Regions from separate parts of the Homo sapiens genome. Here region 1 is linked to region 2. The links are contacts of gene promoters, found by promoter capture Hi-C in blood cells and fetal thymus (Javierre and others, 2016). All regions are on one chromosome and are shown on one strand. Each heading gives the region's core, a stretch centred on a gene start or on the middle of the fragment in contact. The rest is flanking DNA. Distances are from core to core; before and after follow the strand shown. Region 1 overlaps UNC13A (unc-13 homolog A). Region 2 holds the start of INSL3 (insulin like 3).

Region 1 (2,797 bases), core at 74-2,573, 190 kb after region 2:
TGGAGGGATAGATAGTTGCATGAGTGGGTGAATGAATTGATGAAGGGATGGTTGGATGGGTGGATAATGGGTGGATGGATGAATAGATAGATGGGTACATGGATGGGTGGACAGTTGCATGAGTGGGTGAATGAATGGATGGAAGGATGGATGAATGGATGGAGGAATAGATAAATGAGTTGTTGAATGTATGGGTGGATAGTTGCATGAGTGGATGAATGAATGAATGGAGGGACAAATGGATGAGTGGGTGGAGGCTCAAAGGGAAACAAAGCCTTAGTGCAGAGTCAGTCAGCAGTGGCTATGAGGGAACCTGAACCCAAATCCCTCTACCCTACCCTACACTCCTCTGTGGGGCAGGGAAGGACAAAGCAGCCCATCCCATCTGCCTTCTGCCTGCCAAAGTTTTATACTTCCATGACTTTGCCAGGTTTCCCCAGGAGCTGAATGTGGGTAAAATCAGCGCTGAAGTGATGTGGAATCTGTTTGCCCAAGACATGAAGTACGCCATGGAGGGTGAGTTTCCCACCCCAGTGTTCCCCAGCCTGGCCACACCAGGTGGCTGTACCTCTGTGTCCCCTCCAAGGCTGTGAGCACCCTATAATACCCTCATGCCTGAGTTGGAAATCAGTGATGGCCAGAGTAGGCAGCCTCTCTGCCGAGACAGAGGGTGGCAGACCCTTCCAGCTGTGCCATCCTCTTTGTCCCTGGCCAGAGCACGACAAGCATCGTCTATGCAAGAGTGCCGACTACATGAACCTCCACTTCAAGGTGAAATGGCTCTACAATGAGTATGTGACGGAACTTCCCGCCTTCAAGGACCGCGTGCCTGAGTACCCTGCGTAAGTCCCCTGCCCCAGGCCCAACCCAAGCCAGAACTGTAGCACTGACAGCTAGAAGGAAAGCCAGAGAGGAAGACTGACCTACTTAGGGTTACCTGGGCATCAGGGGCATGGGTGGGGCTTGAATCCAGTGTTCTCCACTCTCAGCCATTGAGCAGTTGACTCCTACAGCCCAGAAAATTCAGTCAACAGCAACAGGAACCATGTGACTTTCTCATTTTATCCTTTTGACAATTCTATGAGTTAAGGTGGGATCATTTTAATTCCTATTTTGCGGAGGAGAAATTGGAGAGTTAAAGATGCCAAATGGCCAGGCATGGTGGCACATGCCTGTAGCCCCGGCAATCTGGGAGACTGAGGCAGGACTTGCTTGAGCCCAGGAGTTCGAGACCAGCCTGGAAAAGATAGTCAGATCCCATCTCTAAAATTAATGAATGGGTCAGGCACAGTGGCTTGTGCCTGTAATCCCAGGACTTTGGGAGGCCGAAGTGGGCAGATCACCTGAGGTCAGGAGTTCGAGACCAGCATAGCCAATAGGGCGAAACCCCAGCTCTACAAAAATACAAAAATTGGCCGGGCGCAGTGGCTCATGCCTGTAATCTCAGCACTTTGGGAGGCCAAGGTGGGTGGATCACCAGAGGTCAGGAGTTTGAGACCGGCCTGGCCAACATGGTGAGACCCTGTCTCTACTAAAAATACAAAAATTAGCCAGGTGTGGTGGCAGATGCCTGTAATCCCAGCTACTTGGGAGGCTGAGGCATGAGAATTGCTTGAACCCAGGAGGCGGAGGTTGCAGTGAGCCGAGATTGCACCACTGGATTCCAGCTGGGGCAACAAAGTGAGACTCCGTCTCAAAAACAAAGAAAAAAATTATCCGGGTGTGATGGCACACACCTGTAGTCCCAGCTACTCGGGAGGCCGAAGCAGGAGGATCGCTTGAACTCAGGAGGCAGAGGTTGCAGTAAGCGGAAATCGTGTCACTGCACTCCAGCCTGGGCGACAGAGTGAGACTCCATTTCAAAAAATAAATAAATATAAAAATAAAATGAATGAGTGAATAAATGCCACATTCCTTGCCCACGGTGACTCCCAGTACATGACAGACCCGAGATTTGAACTCGGGACATCTGATTCCTGGGCTGTGTGTTGGAGGATAGTACGGTGCCGCCGGTTCCTGAGAATTGTGGTGTCGTTCTCTGCTCCCAGCAGCACAGGAGGATGGCTAGTCTTCTGTTGTACAAGAAACGAAAGCTCTGGCTGGATGCGGTGGCTCATTCCTGTAATCCCAACATTTTGGGAGGCCAAGGTGGGAGGATCACTTGAGGCCAGGAGTTCAAGGCCTGCCTGGGCAACACAGGGAAATCCTGTCTCTACAAAGAAGACAAAAAAAAAAATTAGCCGGGCATGGTGGCATGTGCCTGTAGTGCCAGCTATTCGGGAAGCTGAGGTGGGAGGATTGCTTGAACCCAGCAGGTCAAGGCTGCAGTGAGCTGTGATCGCACCACTGCACTTTAGCCTGGGCAACAGAACAAGACCCAGGAAGGAAGGAAGGAAGGAAGAAGGAAGGAAGGAAGGAAGGGAGGGAGGGAGGGAAGGAAGGAAAGGAGGGAGGGAGGGAGGGAGGGAGAAAACAAGAGCTCAGAGAATAAACCCACTTGCCATGGGCAGTTTATCTGAAGAAGGAAGGAAGGAAGGAAGGAAGGAAGGAGGGAGGGAGGGAGGGAAGGATGGACGGAGGACTCAGAGAGGACTCAGAGAATAAACCCACTTGCCATGGGCAGCTTATCTGAACTAGGATTCCCACAGGCCTGGGCCCTGTTGTAAAAGGGGCCACTCAATCTATTTCATGAGCAAAGTAACTGAGGTTCAGTGCAGGAGGCGAGCAGAGGAGCAGCCACTCAAGGCTGCAGGGAGAGCTCCAGGCAGAGCAGGAGCAGCCATAGCTCCACTCGTTA
Region 2 (2,922 bases), core at 423-2,922:
CCCCAGAAAAGGCAGGATTATTACTTTTCAGTTGATCTATTTCATCTCTTTAAACTGGTTAAGACAATAGCGAAGACTTGGCCGTGTGTGGTGCCTCACACCTGTAATCCCAGCATTTTGGAAGGCCGAGTAGGGAGAACCACTTGAGTTCTAGATGAGCCTGGGCAACATAGCAAGACCCCTGCCTCTACAATTAAAAAATTAAAAATGGCCGGGCGCGTTGGTGCACGCCTGTAATCCCAGCACTTTGGGAGGCCGAGGCGGGTGGATCACTTGAGGTCAGGAGTTTGAGATCAGCCTGGCCAACATGGTGAAACCCCGTCTCTGCTAAAAAATACAAAAATTAGCCAGGCTTGGTGGTGGGCACCTGTAATCCCAGCTACTCAGGAGGCTGAGGCAGGAGAATCGCTTGAACCCAGGAAGCAAAGGTTGCAGTGAGTCGAGATCGCACCACTGTACTCCAGCCTGGGTGACAGAGTAAGACTCTGTCTAAAAAGATAAAAATAAAAATTAAAAAATTAAAAATTAGCTGGGCATTGTATTGCAGGCCTGTAGTCCCAGCTACTCAGGAGGCAGAGGCTGAAGGATCGCTTGAGCCCAGGGGAATGAGGTTACAGTGAGCTATGATCCTGCCATTACAGGCCAACCCAGAGAGATCCTATGTCAAAAATGAATAAATACCCTGGTGTGGTCGCTCTCGCCTGTGATCCCAGGACTTTGGGAGGCTGAGGCGGGAAGATGACTTGAGTCCAGGAGTTTGAGACCAGCCTGGGCAACATGGCAAAACCCCATCTCTACAAAAAAAATACAAAAAATTAGCCGGGTGTGGTGGCGTGGGCCTGTAGTCCCAGCTACTCAGGAGGCTGAGGTGGGAGAATTGCTTGAGTCAGGGATAGGGAGGTGGCAGTGAGCCCATATCGTGCCACTGCACTCCAGCCAGGGTAACAGAGCAAGAACTCATCTCAAAAATAAAAAATAAAAATAGGTGGCTGGGCGTGGTGGCTTACACCTGTAATCCCAGCTACTTGGGAGGCTGAGGTGGGAGAATCACTTGAACCCAGGAGGTGGAGGTTGCAGTGAGCCGAGATCGCATCACTGCACTCCAGCCTGGAAGACAGAGCAAGACTTTGTCTCAATAATAATAATAAAAATAATAATAGTCCAGGCACAGCTCATGCCTGTAATCCCAGCATTTTGGGAGGCCGAGGCAGATGGATCGCTTGAGGTCAGGAGTTGGAGACCAGCCTGGCCAACATGGCGAACCCCAGTCTCTACTAAAAATAAAAAATAAAAAAAAAAAAATTAGCCAGGCATAGTGGTGCGCACCTGTAATCCCAGCTACTCAGGAGGCTGAGGCAGGAGAATCGCTTGAACCCGGGTGTCAGAAGTTGCAGTGAGCCGAGATCAAGTCACTGCACTCCAACCTGGGTGACAGAGTGAGACTCCATCTCAAAAAAAAAGAAGAAAAAAATAAAAAAGAAAGACTCGTTGCCCAGTGCTCCCTCTGGGAGAAGTACATCCAAGGCCCTGGCCCTGGGAGAAAGGCTCTGGCACTAACCCCACCCTTGACCTTTTTCCTGGGCGGTCCTGAAGAATGTTCTGTCCCTTCTCCAAGGCCCCCAGCTGGGACGGCCCAGGCGCCTATAAAGGGGGTCCCCGCTTGGCCCCGGCGCCACCCACCACCATGGACCCCCGTCTGCCCGCCTGGGCGCTGGTGCTGCTGGGCCCTGCCCTGGTGTTCGCGTTGGGCCCCGCGCCCACCCCAGAGATGCGTGAGAAGTTGTGCGGCCACCACTTCGTACGCGCGCTAGTGCGCGTGTGCGGGGGCCCCCGCTGGTCCACCGAAGCCAGGAGGCCTGCGACCGGAGGCGACCGTGAGTGGGGACGGGCAGGGACAGCGCTCTGGGAAGCCGAGGTGGGGCAGGTGCACGTAGGCGCAGATGCACACGTGCAGGGAGGTGGGCAGGTTTGCATGCATGTGCCCAGGGCTCACCTGCCGGCTGCGTGCACAGATCGTGGGTCCGCACTGGAGTGTGTGTGAACGCGCGTGTGAAAGTCCCCAGAGCCGTTAGCCAGGCGTGGTGGCTCACGCCTGCAATCCCAGCACTTTGGGAGGCTGAGGCGGGTGGATCCCCAGAGGTCAGGAGTTCGAGACCAGCCTGGCCAAAATGGTGAAACCCCATCTCTACTAAAAATAATTTTTAAAAAAATTAGCCGGGGATAATGATGCACATCTGTAATCCCAGCTACTTGGGAGGCCAAGGCAGGAGAATCGCTTGAACCCGGAAGGCAGAGGTTGCAGTGGGCCGATATCATGCCATTGCACTCCAGCCTGGGCGACAGAGTGAAACTCCGTCTCAAAAAAAAAAAAAAAAGAAAGTCCTCAGAGCATGAGTCCCCCTGAGGGGCCAGAAACAGAGTGAGGCAGGAGAGGTAGGCTCTTGCAAGTACATGGTGAGATCCTGTCTTAAAATTTCAATATTTTGATCTTCATGAATTTTTGCCTTAATTTTGCTTTGTTTGTTTGTTTTTTGAGACAGGGTCTCACTCTGACGCCCAGGCTGGAGTGCAGTGGTGAGATCTCGGCTCACTGCAGGCTCAACCTCCTGGGCTCAAACCATCCTCCTGCCTCAGCCTCTGGAGTGGCTGGGATACAGGTGCTGCCACCACACCCAGCTAATTTTTTTTTCTTTTTCGTAGAGAGGGAGTCTCACTCTGTTTCCCAGGCTGGTCTCAAACTCCTGAGCTCAAGTAATCCTCCCACCTTGACCTTCCAAAGTGTTGGGATTAGCGATGTGAGTCACTGTGTCCAGCTTTAAAAGTATTTAAAAGTATTGCTTTTGAAAAGTATTGCTTTTCACAATTATGTTACTTTATTTTATTATTTTATTTTTATTTATTTATTTTGAGACATAGCCTCGC

The links. Contacts are between HindIII fragments. The CHiCAGO score rates a contact against its expected background, and 5 or more counts as called.
Region 1: a fragment that was not itself captured here is called in contact with the fragment with the promoter of INSL3 in region 2 in 1 of 17 cell types (M0 macrophages); the score reaches 5.4 in M0 macrophages.

Annotation. Positions count from the first base shown.
Region 1 is chr19:17,630,827-17,633,623 of GRCh38, reverse strand. UNC13A (unc-13 homolog A) reads left to right here. Exons shown (of 44, transcript NM_001080421.3): 27 at 431-516; 28 at 716-842. Among named protein-coding and RNA genes, the nearest start is that of UNC13A, 56 kb to the left of the region's middle. The HindIII fragment of the contact is 8,105 bases long and covers 1-2,797 here.
Region 2 is chr19:17,820,269-17,823,190 of GRCh38, reverse strand. INSL3 (insulin like 3) reads left to right here and starts at 1,672. Exons shown (of 2, transcript NM_005543.4): 1 at 1,672-1,874. The coding sequence starts at 1,685. The HindIII fragment of the contact is 12,026 bases long and covers 1-2,922 here.